Regions from separate parts of the Homo sapiens genome. Here regions 1, 2, 4 and 5 are each linked to region 3. The links are contacts of gene promoters, found by promoter capture Hi-C in blood cells and fetal thymus (Javierre and others, 2016). All regions are on one chromosome and are shown on one strand. Each heading gives the region's core, a stretch centred on a gene start or on the middle of the fragment in contact. The rest is flanking DNA. Distances are from core to core; before and after follow the strand shown.

What was found. The method cuts DNA at HindIII sites, captures the fragments that hold promoters and counts their contacts. A CHiCAGO score of 5 or more calls a contact.
Region 1: a contact is called between a fragment that was not itself captured here and the fragment with the promoter of GLIPR1 in region 3, in 1 of 17 cell types (naive B cells). The highest score is 5.1, in naive B cells.
Region 2: a contact is called between a fragment that was not itself captured here and the fragment with the promoter of GLIPR1 in region 3, in 2 of 17 cell types (total B cells and naive B cells). The highest score is 11.7, in total B cells.
Region 4: a fragment that was not itself captured here is called in contact with the fragment with the promoter of GLIPR1 in region 3 in 2 of 17 cell types (M0 macrophages and monocytes); the score reaches 5.9 in M0 macrophages.
Region 5: a contact is called between the fragment with the promoter of E2F7 here and the fragment with the promoter of GLIPR1 in region 3, in 1 of 17 cell types (fetal thymus). The highest score is 5.3, in fetal thymus.

Annotation. Positions count from the first base shown.
Region 1 is chr12:76,487,179-76,489,878 of GRCh38, forward strand. OSBPL8 (oxysterol binding protein like 8) reads right to left here. Exons shown (of 24, transcript NM_020841.5): 2 at 332-440. The coding sequence starts at 373. Among named protein-coding and RNA genes, the nearest start is that of OSBPL8, 71 kb to the right of the region's middle. The HindIII fragment of the contact is 682 bases long and covers 1,009-1,690 here.
Region 2 is chr12:76,786,167-76,788,866 of GRCh38, forward strand. The region is part of intron 1 of ZDHHC17 (zDHHC palmitoyltransferase 17); the gene reads left to right. Among named protein-coding and RNA genes, the nearest start is that of ZDHHC17, 23 kb to the left of the region's middle. The HindIII fragment of the contact is 5,143 bases long and covers 1-2,700 here.
Region 3 is chr12:75,479,488-75,482,187 of GRCh38, forward strand. GLIPR1 (GLI pathogenesis related 1) reads left to right here and starts at 1,268. Exons shown (of 6, transcript NM_006851.3): 1 at 1,268-1,567; 2 at 2,347-2,592. The coding sequence starts at 1,394. The HindIII fragment of the contact is 5,495 bases long and covers 1-2,700 here.
Region 4 is chr12:76,589,974-76,592,673 of GRCh38, forward strand. The region is part of intron 3 of LOC105369850 (a long non-coding RNA gene); the gene reads left to right. Among named protein-coding and RNA genes, the nearest start is that of OSBPL8, 32 kb to the left of the region's middle. The HindIII fragment of the contact is 443 bases long and covers 1,035-1,477 here.
Region 5 is chr12:77,064,158-77,066,857 of GRCh38, forward strand. It overlaps E2F7 (E2F transcription factor 7), which reads right to left and starts at 1,412. Exons shown (of 13, transcript NM_203394.3): 1 at 1,188-1,412; 2 at 386-478. The coding sequence starts at 478. RefSeq lists silencers at 1,252-1,301, 1,322-1,751 and enhancers at 1,360-2,066, 1,802-2,031. The HindIII fragment of the contact is 4,360 bases long and covers 1-2,150 here.

The sequences.
Region 1 (2,700 bases), core at 100-2,599, 1.0 Mb after region 3:
GCCACCACACCTGGCTAATTTTTGTATTTTTAATAGAGACAGGGTTTCGCCATTGTTGCCCAGGCTGGTCTTGAACTCCTGAGCTCAGGTAATCCACCCATCTCGGCCTCCCAAAGTTCTAGGATTACAGGTGTGAGCCACCATGCCTAGCTAGCTATCTGTAATTTTCATATCATTTAAAGTATCTGTAATTCTCAAGGAGTTAAAGCATTATTTTAAAAATACTTTTTAAAAGTTTGTTGTTAATATATTTTAAAAACAAAACCCTAGCTTACATCAAACACTTCACAGTTACAGATGATAGAACCTATGTCATATATGAACTACTCACCGAAGTTCGATCAGGTTCTCCATCTGCCAAACCTCCCTCCATAATGAAAGAAGATAGGTTTATGCTTCTCTTTCCATTAATGTGCAGCCATTCTGTAAATCTGCAAATCCTAAAATAAGAAAATGATATTTATTAGGACTGGTATAAAACTGTGACAAGTAGAAATAAAGCATTGAGTTTGTTAGAAGGGAAAAATCATTTTAGTCTGAGGTTATTTGGAAATTCAATAATTAAAAAAAAAATTGACATGGGCTTGAAGAATGGTAAAGGTTCAGAGAAAAATGAAAGAAGAAAAAAATATTCCAAGTGAAGAAAAATAGTAAGAGCAAGGTTAAACATGAGACTGCCTAAAATTTGAAAGGATGCATAAATCTACTTACAACTAATGAAATAAATTAGTTTTTCATTATTACATTGGTAAAAACTAAAAAGTATGCTAAAATCCATCATGGGAGAGAATGTGGGGAAACAGATATTCTCATGTACTTTTGTTATGAGAATATAAATCAGGACAATTTTTTGAAGGACAATTAAAAATATGTATGTTTTAATCCAGCAATTTCAAGACTAGAAATTTTCCCACAGATATACAAATGCCCAGAAATATATAAACAATTCCAACACAGTAATAAATCTGATGAAAAAAACTAGAAACAACTTAAATGTTGATGGCTAGAAGCTTCCTTAAATTATATTACAGACATACAATAGAATATCATGCAGCAATTTTAAAAAATGAAGTAGATCTATATATACTAAACTGGAAAGAGGATCACAACACATAAGGTGGGAAATGTGAGTGATGGAACATTTTATATATATAAGATACTCTTTGCTTCTGTATATTTCCATTTTTACCATGAATATGTATATCTACAGGCATGCCTTGTTTTATTGTGTTTCGCTTTACTGCACAAAGAGATACTGCCTTTTTTACAAAATGAAGGTTGGTGACAGCCTTGCAGCAAGTAAGTCTATCGGTACTTTTCCAACAGCATGTGCTCACTTTGTGTCTCTGTGTCATAGTTTGGTAACTCTCAAATATTTCAACCCTTTTCATTAAAGTATCTGTTCAGCAATCTGTGATCAATAATCCTTGATATTACTATTGTAATCATTTTGGGGCACCACAAACTGCAGCCATATAAAACAAGTAACTGAACTGATAAATGTAGGAGGTTTTGACTGTTCCACCCATCTGCCATTCTCCCATTTTCTCTTTCTCCCGGCTCTTCTCTATTCCATCAGTCACAATAATATTGAAATTAGTCCAATTAATAACACTACAAAGGCCTCTAAGTGTTCAAGTAAAAGGAAGACCCACATATTTCACTTTAAATCAAAAGCTAAAAATGATTAAGCTTAGTGAGGAAGGCATGTCAAAAGCCAGAAGCATGGCCTCTTACACCAAACAGCCATGTTGTGAATGCAAAGTAAAAGTTCTTGGAAGAAATTAAAAGTCCTATTCCAATGAACACACAAATAAGAAAGCAAAACAGCCTTATTGCTGATATACAGCAAGTTTGAGTGGTCTGGATAGAAGATCAGGCTAATTATATAGGCAAGGCCCTAACTCTCTTCAATTCTATACAGGCTGAGAGAGGTGAGAAAGCTGCAGAAGAGAAGTTTCAAGCCAGCAGAGGTTGGTTCATGAGGTTTAAGGAAAGAAGCCATCTCTATAACATCAAAATGCAAGGTGAAGTAGCAAGTGCTACTTGGAGAAACTGCAGTAAGTTATCCAAAAGATCTAGCTAAGATCATTGATGAACATGGCTACACTAAACAACAGGTTTTCAATATAGATGAAATAGCCTTCTATTAGAAGATGCCATTAAGGACTTTCATATCTAGAGAGGAGAAGTCAATGCCAGACTTCAAAGCTGCAAAGGACAAACTGACTCTCTTGTTAGGGGCTAATGCAGCTGGTGGTTTGAAGTTGAAGCCAATGTTCATTTACCATTCCAAAAATTCTAGGGCCCTTTCAAGAATTATGCTGTAACTACTCTGCCTGTGCACTATAAATAAAACAACAAAGCCTGTATGATAGCACATCTGTTTACAGCATGGTTTACTAAAATTTTAAGCTCACTGTTGAGACTACTGCTAAGAAACAATATTCCTTTCAAAATATTACCACTCACTGACAATGCACTTGGTCACCCAAAAGTTCTGGTGGAGATGTACAAAAAGATTAATGTTGTTTTCATCTCTAACGCAACATCTATTCTGCAGTCCATGAATCAGGGAGTAATTTTAACTTCCATGTCTTATTATTTAAGAAATACATTCAGTAAGGCCATAAGCTGCCAGAGATAGTGATTCCTCTGATGGATCTGGGCAAAGTTTGAAAACCTAATGGAAAAGATTCA
Region 2 (2,700 bases), core at 162-2,661, 1.3 Mb after region 3:
AGTGCAGTGGTGTGATCACAGTTTACTGTAGGCTCAAGTGATCCTCCCACCACAACCTCCTGAGTTGCTGGGATTACAGGTGTGTGCCATTAAGCCTGGCTAATTTTTTTTATTTTTATTTTTATTTATTTTTGAGACAGAGTCTTGCTCTGTCGTCCAGGCTGTAGTGCAGTGGCACGATCTGGGTTGAAGTGAATCTCCTGCCTCAGCCCCCTGAGTAGCTGGGATGGCAGGCACCTGCCACCATGCCTGGCTAATTTTTGTATTTTAGTAGAGATGGGGTTTTACCATGTTGGTCACACTGGTCTTGAACTCCTGAACTCAAGCAGTCCACCCGCCTCGGCCTCCCAAAGTGCTGGGATTACAGGCATGAGTCACTGTGCCTGGCCTTTTTAATTTTTATTTTTAGAGACAGTCTCACTATGTTCCTCAGGCTGGTCTCAAACTCCTGGCCGCATGTGGTCCTTCCCCATCAGCCTCATGAGTTGTGGGGATTATAGGTATGCACCACTGCACCCAGCTGAATTTTTCTAGCTTGGACATTTTGATAGTTAGAAATGCCTTCTAGTAAATAGCACAGGAAAGGTGGAAGTATAAATTTTGGGGATGGTGGAAAGGAAAAAAAAATCTTTAGATGATCTTCTAAAATTGCATATCTAATTCTGTTACTTCCTTCCTCAAAACTCCCTGATTGATCTCCGTTGCCTGCTGAACTAGATGCCTAAATGTCTTTACTTATTCTCAGTCGAAGATGGGGTTTTTGCACTTCTCCTAAGAGATAGTTTACAATACTTCTTAGGATTTTCAGTTACGTATCTTTGCCATTCAAATTACATTTTGGTAATTACATTTAGATAATTTACATGTGCACTTGATGCAAACATTTAAAAAACCAAAATAAAACAACTTAAAATACTTGAAGGTACTTCTTCCTTGAAATTTTCCAGAGTCGTTTTATGTCTGCCCTAGTTTTTTGGGCCCTAATGGAAATGTCACCACGACTTGAGTGTGGGCTGCTGATAAGAACAGTTGGCCTGTGGTAGAGAAGGGAGGTCAAGGGGAAGAGTGAAGGTCACTTTCATAATATTATCATCAACTAGGAGATACATAAAAATAATACTGGTCATAATCTTTACAGGATGAAATCGAGAATCTCCAATGAAATATTAAATTGGCCATATTCTATAATGTAACAGCCTGTTGGCATTTTTATGCCCAATCAAGTGGGCATTTTTATCCATATACAGTGTTATGCATTCCCTGGAATATATTTGAATAAGGATGATTGAACAGCTTTATGATGAAGAAACACTAAATACATTGACTATTAAAAAATGGAGGAAAAATAATAGGAAATAAGGAAGTATTCTCATTTTACTTTTCCAATATTGCATTTGATGTTTTTGCCAATGCCATCGGCCATAGAGTGAAAACACACACTCTGTCTCTCCCTCTCTCTCTCTCTCTCTCTCTCTGTCTCTTGTGTGTGTGTGCGCGCGCAGGAGAGTTGATGGTATTCTTACAGTATTCAAAGGTATCTAAAATCAGAGATGATATTTTAACATTGTGGCTGGATATAAGATAAATCTGTGAACATTAGTAGTAAAACCATATACTAGTTATAACCAGCTCCAAAATACAATGAAAATGATTTATATAGATCCATTTACACACTACTTACCAAACTAAACAACTCTCAGAATCATATTAGTCCGGATAAGCTATGTTTTGCTGCAGTAACAACCCTAAATTTCAGTGGCTTAGCTGAGTGTGGTTGTGTGCACCTGTACTACCAACTACTCAGGAGGCTGAGACAGGAGGATTGCTTGAGCCCAGGAGTTCCAGGCTGTAGTGGTGATGATCACGTCTGTGCATAGCCACTGTACTCTAGCCTGGGCAACATAGTGAGACCCTGTCCCTTAAAAAAATGTTAGTAGTTATGCTACACATACATTGTGGGTGGGATAGTAGGTTTTCTATCCAGTGATTATCTCTACTCTCTAGAAGATTGCCAGTCTCCTTGGCAGATGGAAAGAGAGACTGGGGAATTGCATGTTGGCTCTTAAACTTGTTCTCTGAAAGCAACAGATCCTTTTTATTCATATTCCATTGGTTAAGATCACATGGTCAATCACTTGGACACACTTATCTTTCAAAGGGCCAAGGGTGTACAGTTCAACTTTGTACCTGAGAAGAGAACTGAAAATATTTCATGAATAGCACTAATAATTGTAGCAGTATTGAAATATAAAAATGAAAACCAAAAAAGCACAAGGAAAAGATTAATACATGTGACTATAAAGGGTATAATCTCTGAATTATATTGAAAGCATAAATGAACAGTTCTAAACATGGAAGTCTTTAGATCAGTATGAAAAAGATTAATCTATATATAAAAGTGTAATACAAATATATTAAGCAGATTTCAGGAGTCAAGTACAATAAAATGACCAAAAGATATGAACAGGTAATTCCCAAAAGATGAACTAGGATAGGAAAATATATTTAAGTTGGAATCGCAATTTTTTTTTTTTTTTTTTTTTTTTTTGAGCAGAGTTTCGCTCTTGTTGTCCAGGCTGGAGTGCAGTGGCATGATCTCTGTTCACTGCAACCTCTGCCTCCCGGGTTCAAGCGATTCTCCTGCCTCAGCCTGTCGAGTGGCTGGGATTACAGACATGCACCACCACGCCCAGCTAATTT
Region 3 (2,700 bases), core at 18-2,517:
AACCCCACCTACAGCTAAAATCCTCCAATAACTTCCCATGACTTTGGTGATAAAATAAAAAATCATTAGCAGAATTGAGAAATCCTTCCTGATCTGACTCTTAACTTCTCTCCCCCAAGTGGCATGAAAGCATCATTTGGATTCTGAATTCCATGACACCAGGTATCAAGTTTTCTACCAGTCAGAATCACTACTTATTTACAGACCATATTTACAGAGGGAGACAATATGGAGAGGTTCTTGCTCTATTCTTGCCATAACACCATGTCTTCAATTTCACAACTAGATATATAGTTCCTATCCCTCTAATTCCCTTCTCCTCTCCAGCGCTTTTTCACTTGATCAACACCTAGCTGATTCTAGCCTCAGCAAAGACCTCACCTGCTGTATGTAGGCCGGCTCTGCCGTTTCCAGAATGGGTTAAGTATGCTCTCTTGTGTGTCCATATCTACCTGTGCTTTCCTATATCCAGATCTCCAACAGCCCCTGTTGTAACATCCTTGTCATCACCATCTCACAGCTCTTACCACTGTAAGCTCCTTGGGGCCAGTGACTGTGTTTTTATTTCTGTATTACTAAGGTGAATATACAAGGCAGGAATTTAATATTAGCTAGTTCATTTGATCCTGCCAAACCTCTGTAATTAAGGAAGCAGAAAAGGTCCCATAGTCTCATTCAATAGGTGGCTGAGGTTTAGAGAGTTTTGTATCCTGTCCAAGGTCTTACAGCTAGTTAGAAACAGAAACTAAATTCTCAACTTGAGTCCTGTATTCTTTCTACTATTCTCCCTCTCAATCCCTCTCTCTCTTTCTCTCTCTCTCTCTTTCTCTCCCTCTCTCTCTCTCACACACACACACACACACACACATACACGCTTACATGTTTCTACCATCGTGAATGAATTCTAGGTCAAGTTTATGATGTTAACCAGATATTCCAACCACTATGTGTTGATATGACTCTAAAAAGAAAAAGATTTCTGAAAGCATTTTGCGAGGCATTTATAGAAGTAAGAGATATTTTCATTTTATCACCGCAACCTCCATTAAAAATTGGAGACTATTATTCCTGGAGACTTCAGAATTTTCTTTGGAAATATCTCCCAATTCAAAAGGAAGTCTGACACAGCCTCATAAAAATCTATGTCGTAATAGGTGCTGTGTCACTGAAAACCACTGAAAAGACAGGGTTAAGAACACAAAGTGAGCTGCACACCATATATGGAGAAACCCGTTTCTTAAAACTAGTGATGAACTCATGCTCTGTTCTGTTTTCTCAAAGCTGAAGTCGGCTAGGTTTGCAAAGCTGTGGGCTGAGCACTCAGGCAATCACACTCTCAGAAACTGCGGCGGCTCTGGACTGCAGCCTCCCAAGGCTCCATGCCAGACAAAGCATGCGTGTCACACTTGCTACAATAGCCTGGATGGTTTCTTTTGTCTCCAATTATTCACACACAGCAAATATTTTGCCAGATATCGAAAATGAAGATTTCATCAAAGACTGCGTTCGAATCCATAACAAGTTCCGATCAGAGGTGAAACCAACAGCCAGTGATATGCTATACATGGTAAGGAAAATATCATTAATTGTGGCGTCAGTCAGTCAGAAACAACTAATGTGTATTGACTTTGGTGTTAATACCTTCGTAATACTGAATGATTTTTTTTTCATTGTGATTAATGTATGCAGTAAATTCACAGTCTGTGATCAAAACACATCCAGTTTAGCTCTGTCTACCCAACTGTTGTTATAAGCAAGTGCCACAGCACATTTTACTTCTCTTTGGACACTTCCTGTTTTCTGGTTTTCAGTGGATTTTACTTCTCTTTTTGTTATCTTCCTCCCTGTTAATTTTTGTGATTTGGTTTTCTTTTTTTTTTTTTTTTTTTGTCTCTAAATTTACTTTTTTTGCTGCTGACAAAGTACTGAGTTGCTCAGGTAGGCAGAATGGCATCTGGGGAAAGGATGGGATTTTGATTCAGTAAGGCTTGGGATTGAATTTCAGATCTGTGGCTTTAAGCTGGTTTTTAACCTTTCTGAACTTCTTAGGATATGGGCTGTTGTGGTTATGGAATAATGTTGTGAAACACGGCACACACTATTTTGCCCACAATTAGCCTTCAGTGAAATGTCAGTTTTCCTCACTTAGATTCTAAATTCCATGAAACTAAATTGTCACGTTTCCTACCAGCCCTACTCAGTGCTTGAAGACCATATTTATAGAGGACTCATATGCAGTGGTATCTTCTCTCCTTATCTCACCTCGTTTTCCATTCAAATTCCCACTGTACTCACCCCAGTTACATTTCAGATGAACCCCCTATTGTTTAATGTTTATTTTTGCAGACTTGGGACCCAGCACTAGCCCAAATTGCAAAAGCATGGGCCAGCAATTGCCAGTTTTCACATAATACACGGCTGAAGCCACCCCACAAGCTGCACCCAAACTTCACTTCACTGGGAGAGAACATCTGGACTGGGTCTGTGCCCATTTTTTCTGTGTCTTCCGCCATCACAAACTGGTATGACGAAATCCAGGACTATGACTTCAAGACTCGGATATGCAAAAAAGTCTGTGGCCACTACACTCAGGTAAGGATCTGCCCTATATTATCTTGAAACTGTCTTTTCAAGTATGAGGAGAAAAATTGTACTATGAAGTTAAGAAAATGTATAGTATGCTAGTATACCTGTAAATAT
Region 4 (2,700 bases), core at 6-2,505, 1.1 Mb after region 3:
AAGACATGAAAGGAAGGAAAGCTAACTCAAGAATACATTAATCAATCTGAACATTGTTGTAGGTAACTCAGGCTCATTTCTCTGGATCTTTGAATAGCTACCTAGAATTGTCTGCCTTCCCCCAATGTGGCAGACATATCCTAAGGTAACCCCCAATGATCTCTGCCTTCTGGTATTAATGACCTTCTTTATGCCCCTCACCGTAAGACTGGGTAGAACTTGTGAACTGCTTCCAGCCAGAAGAATAAGGCAAAGGTGATAGGATGTTACTCCCATGATGTAATGTAATACATGCATTACAATATATGACAAATGTGATGGGATATCACTCCCATGATTATGTTATATTATGTAAGAATCTGTCTTGATAGCCGACTCACTCTCTCACTTTCCTGCTGGTCTTGAAGAAACAAGTTGTCATGTTATGAACTGCCTATCGGAGAGGACCATGTGGCAAAGAACTCAGAGGTGGCTTGTAGAAGCTGAGAGCCAACAGAAACAAAACAAAACAAAATCTTGAAGCTCTCAGTCCTGTGACTGTAAGGAAATGAATTCTCCCAACAACTTGAGAGAGTTTGGAAGAAGATTCTTCTTTCTTCAGGCTTTCAGATGGGAACATGGTCCAACCAACACCTTCACTGTAGCCTGGAGAGACCCCAAAGTAGAAAACCCAACTAAGGTGTATCTGGACTCCTGACCTACAGAAAGAGAGATAGTAAATGTGTGTTATTTTAATGTGTTCAACTTGTGTTAATTTGTTACATCGAATTGGAAAACTAATAGAGATTTTGGTGCCTAGAGGTAGAATGCTACTGTAATAAATATGTAAAAATATGTCTGTGGCTTTGAAACTGATCAGTGGACAGAGACTAGAAGAATGCTTGAAAAGTATGATAGACAAATCCCAAATCACTGCGAACAAACTCTCAGTAGAAATGTGGATATTGAAGACTGCTGTTGAGGACTCAGAAGGAAGTAAGGAACATGCTATAGGAAACTGGAAGAAGGGAGATCCTTGTTATGTACTGGCGTAAAGCTTAGTGAAATTATTTCTTGCAATTACGTTGAAAGCAGAACTTGTAAATGGATGAATTTGGTTATATAGTTAAGGAGATTTCCAAGCAAAGTGTTGAAGGGGACAACTGGTTTCTTCTTGCTACTTACAGGAAAATTCAAGAAAAGAGACAAATTGAGAGAAGAACTATTAAGCAAAAAGGAATCAGGACTTGATAATTTAAAAAATCCTCATCTTCCCCAGATGGCAAAAAATATTAACAGTTGGAGATGGCTTTTGGGCACTGTCAGAAAAGCCTACTCTAGAGAAAATGCACTTGAAGTTACTCTATAATCTTTTTTAAAGCCCCCAAAAGATCAAAGGTCAGAGTACTCAGGGGTATTTCAAGATACGGCCCTTAGATTTGAAAAGATCTAAGGGTATGCCTCAGATCCTCTCAATCACACTATTGAGCCTCTAGGAAGCTTAAAGGAGATGGAATTATTTTTGAAACAATCTGTAGATGTGGCCTTTGTCTGATAAGAGTGAATGCCACTGAAATACAGAAAGAACCACAACATTCTTGAGAAAATTATTTCTGCAGAAACAGTGCCAACTTGGAATAAGACAGACAGAAAGACTAGAAAATGAAAAGAGGCTGTCAGACCTCCAAAATTTTACTGGCAGAAAGCAGGCTGATAAAACTACTCATCTGCAAACACATGCTACCTTCCATGAAAAAGGAAGAATGACTCAGATGGTGGAACCAAGAACCCAGAAAGCAGAGCCAAGAGCCATGAAGAATCATTCCCAAGCCTAGAAACTTAATTAAGGAACTTCCAATAAATCCAGTTGTATTTCAAAACTGCTATAGACTAGTGACTCCTTTTTACTACCCATTTCCCCTATTTTTAAACTGGAATGTCTATAGCTATTATCCTGTGTCTGTCCCACCATTGTATGTTGGGTGTGTTGGAGGCAGATAACTCATTTCCTTGGTTTCAGAGGTCCATAGTTAGAGAATAATTGTGTCCAGGAGCTTTACTTAACAGGTTATACGTAGGAGGCTCATCTGCACCTGGACTTGATTCACATGATGAAATTTTAGAATTTGAGCTGATGCTATAATGAATGAAACTCTTGGGAACTGATATGGTTTGTCTCTGTGTCCCCACCCAAATCTCATCTTGAATTGTACTCCCACAATTCCCATGGGTTGTGGGAGGGGCCCTGGTGGGAGATAATTTGAATTATGGGGGAGGTTCCCCCATACTGTTCTCATGGTAGCAAATAAGTCTCACGATATCTGATGGTTTTATCAGGGGTTTTATCAGGGGTTTCCACTTCTGCATCTTCTTCATTTTCTCTTGCCGCCGCCATGTAAGAAGTACCTTTCACCTCTCAGCATGATTCTGAGGCCTCCCCAGCCATGTAAGTCCAATTAAACCTCTTTTTCTTCCCAGTCTCAGGTATGTCTTTATCAGCAGTGTGAAAACGGACTAATACAGGAACCTTGGAAGGGGAGAAACCATATATTTCATATGGGAGGGCCTGAGGAAAGACTGGCAGACAGAACCTAGGCTGATTCTCCAATGACCCCCACTTTCTGATATCAATGCCCCTGTTAATTACATCCCATGAATATGGGAGGAATCTGTGAAGCATCTAACTTATAGAATATGGCAAAGGTGACAGAATGGCATTCC
Region 5 (2,700 bases), core at 162-2,661, 1.6 Mb after region 3:
AGCACTTTAATAATCCAGCATTTATGCCTGCAAAGGTCTATTTTCCTGGGAACTGAGGCTTAGCATTCCTACAGAGCACTAGCTACACCACCCTTGACAACTGTATTATAAACTTTGATTGCTGTAGCCAGCATATTTTTGACTTATATAAATTGGTTACAACATTACATGTAACCTTGCCTATTTTTCCCACTATATCTGAGAGTAGAATTCCAACAATAATGGTTTGGATGGCTCTATTTTTAAAAAAGAATGTTTCTATAATGTTTATCAATATTAATTATTATGCTTAAATACAAATACAAATGGCATGTTGGAACACTTAATTGAATTCAACATCACCATCCTTAACATATTAGAAACTAAGGTGTTTATGTTTGCTTACCTTTTGTGCATTTTCCCCATCTTCAACTGCAAAATCTAGTCTGGGCTGCCTGGGGCTGATCAGGTCTTTTAGTGTTAAACAATTTACCTCCATCTGTAATGCACAATTACACTAGAAAATGATTTTGCAATTAGGTATTTTTTCCTCAAACAAAAATATCTACATATGTGTTACTTGTTTGTCAATATGAAATTCCCCCTTCTCTAAGCACATCCTGGGCATTTCCAGGAGTTGTAGCCACCCTCAACTTTCTAAAACTCACGCGAACAAACTCAAACACCTAAAGTGTGCTTAGTAATACTGAAAATCTGGGAAGAAAAAAATCTACAAAAATAGTAACTCCTTATGAAAAGCTAGATGGCAAAATAAAGTTACCAAGTCGGAAGGGTGTTGGGCAAATCTGTCAGAAAAGTACAGGGTCTCCCAGGTCAGTTAATTTTGGCGCAAAGAACTGAGAGGAATTCGGCTTTGAGGGGTTTTGAATCGGGGGAAGGAAACCCGATCGCTAGACCAAACCCACTCAGCGCTGAGCGCAGCCCCTTCCCAGGCCTCCAAGCAGATCCCCCAAATAAACTTCTCCAATGAAAGCTCCAAGTTGTGGGGAAGGGCAAATCCCCTCTACTGCCGGGCCGGAGTGAGAGCTGCACCCGGCACACCCTCTGCGCACCGGGTTCCCCGGCAGAAACACCTCGAGCCCTCGCCAGCCGGGGGACGTGAGGAGTGGCAGGCTGGCAGCCGGGGCGGGAGTGGGCCCTGTATCCCAATTCCCGCCTCCCCACTGGCGCTGGGGCCGCACGCTTACCCCTGCTTTCCTAAGGAGGCTTCCTGCCTCTGCAGGGACCTCCACGGACCCAAGCCGATGAGGGAAGGTGGTGCGGCGATCAGCAGCCGGGCGGCGGCATCGGGAAGGGAGAGCGAGGCGCGCAGATCCCCGCGCCGAGTGCCCTGGGCTGGCGGGGACCCCGCGGCGTCCGGGCAGCGCCAGCGCTCAGACCGGCCGAGCGCAACTCCAGCCTGGATCGTAGTCCCCGCTAAAACACCTCCTCTGGCGCCTTGAGACCGAATTTGAGAATCCACCAATCAGCGGCGGCCGGCGGGGCGGCCCCGGCCAATCGTGCGGCGGCACGGCCCGGGCTCACCGCCCCTCGGAGTCTTGGCGCTCCGAGCCGCGCGTTTTGCCCTCACCCGCCCAATTGTTGCCGCCTCGGCCCCCTCCCCCTTCCGGGTACCTGGAAACCTCGGGCCCGGGAGCCAATTCCTGCTGGGGACGCGGGCCCCGGCGGCCGCGGGAAGCCAAGGTGGGGGCGGCGCGGGGCGGCGCGGGGCGGCGGGAGAAGGAAGAGGAGGAGGAGGGCTCTTTTGTTATGCATAGAAGACCCGCGCACGTCCCCGCGGCTTGCCGCGCCCGGGGACCCCGGGCACAGCCAGAGGACAGGAAAGCAGATGGGGTTTGGAAGAACGATCTACACCCTCTGGATGCTGCTGCCGCCATCCCCGCCCGCCCTCAGCAACCTGTGCGGAAGCGGAGTTGTCCAGACTTGCCGGGGCAAACTTCTTAACATCGCACGCTGGTGTGACACATGAACCATGGTTACCGCTCTGCTGCGAGCAGATGGCACGCCAGTTAGCCCTGGAGACAAGACTGGAAGCCAAACCAGAAGTTTTTCTAACTTTTTTTTGTTTGTTTGTTTTGTGTGTGTGGCAAATCCGGAAATGTTTTTTGGTGTTCCCTTTTCGGCAAATTGCAAATAATTAGGAGGGAAAAAGCTTTATATAAAAAAGTAGTTCTTTGCAATAGGGACTAGCATTCTGGGAGACAGTCTAGAAAATTTCCTCAACACCACTGATCTGTATTAAATGTTTCACTTCTTTCATCCTACAGTTTCTTGTTTAAAATATGAATGTTGGTAGAGATGGACTTTTTACAAAACAGACTTTATTGTTTAGAAGTTTTCAATTTACAGAAAAATTGAGATAGTACCAAGAATTCCCATATATTCAGCACCCAATTTCACCCACTATTAACATTTTGTGTTAGTATAGAATATTTTTTGAAATTAATGATCTAATATTGGTACATTCTTCTGAGCTCAAGTCATTACTTTATTCAGATTTACTTAATTTTTTCCTAATGGCCCTTTTTTCTGTTCAGGATACCACATTACCTTTAGTTCCTATGTCTCTAGGCTCCTCTTGGCTATGACAGTTTCTCATACTTTCCTCATTTTTGATACCTGGACATTTTTGAGTAGTATTGGTCAAGTATTTTGTAAGATATCCCTCAACTGAAATGTGAGACAGCCTTCTTAAAGCAT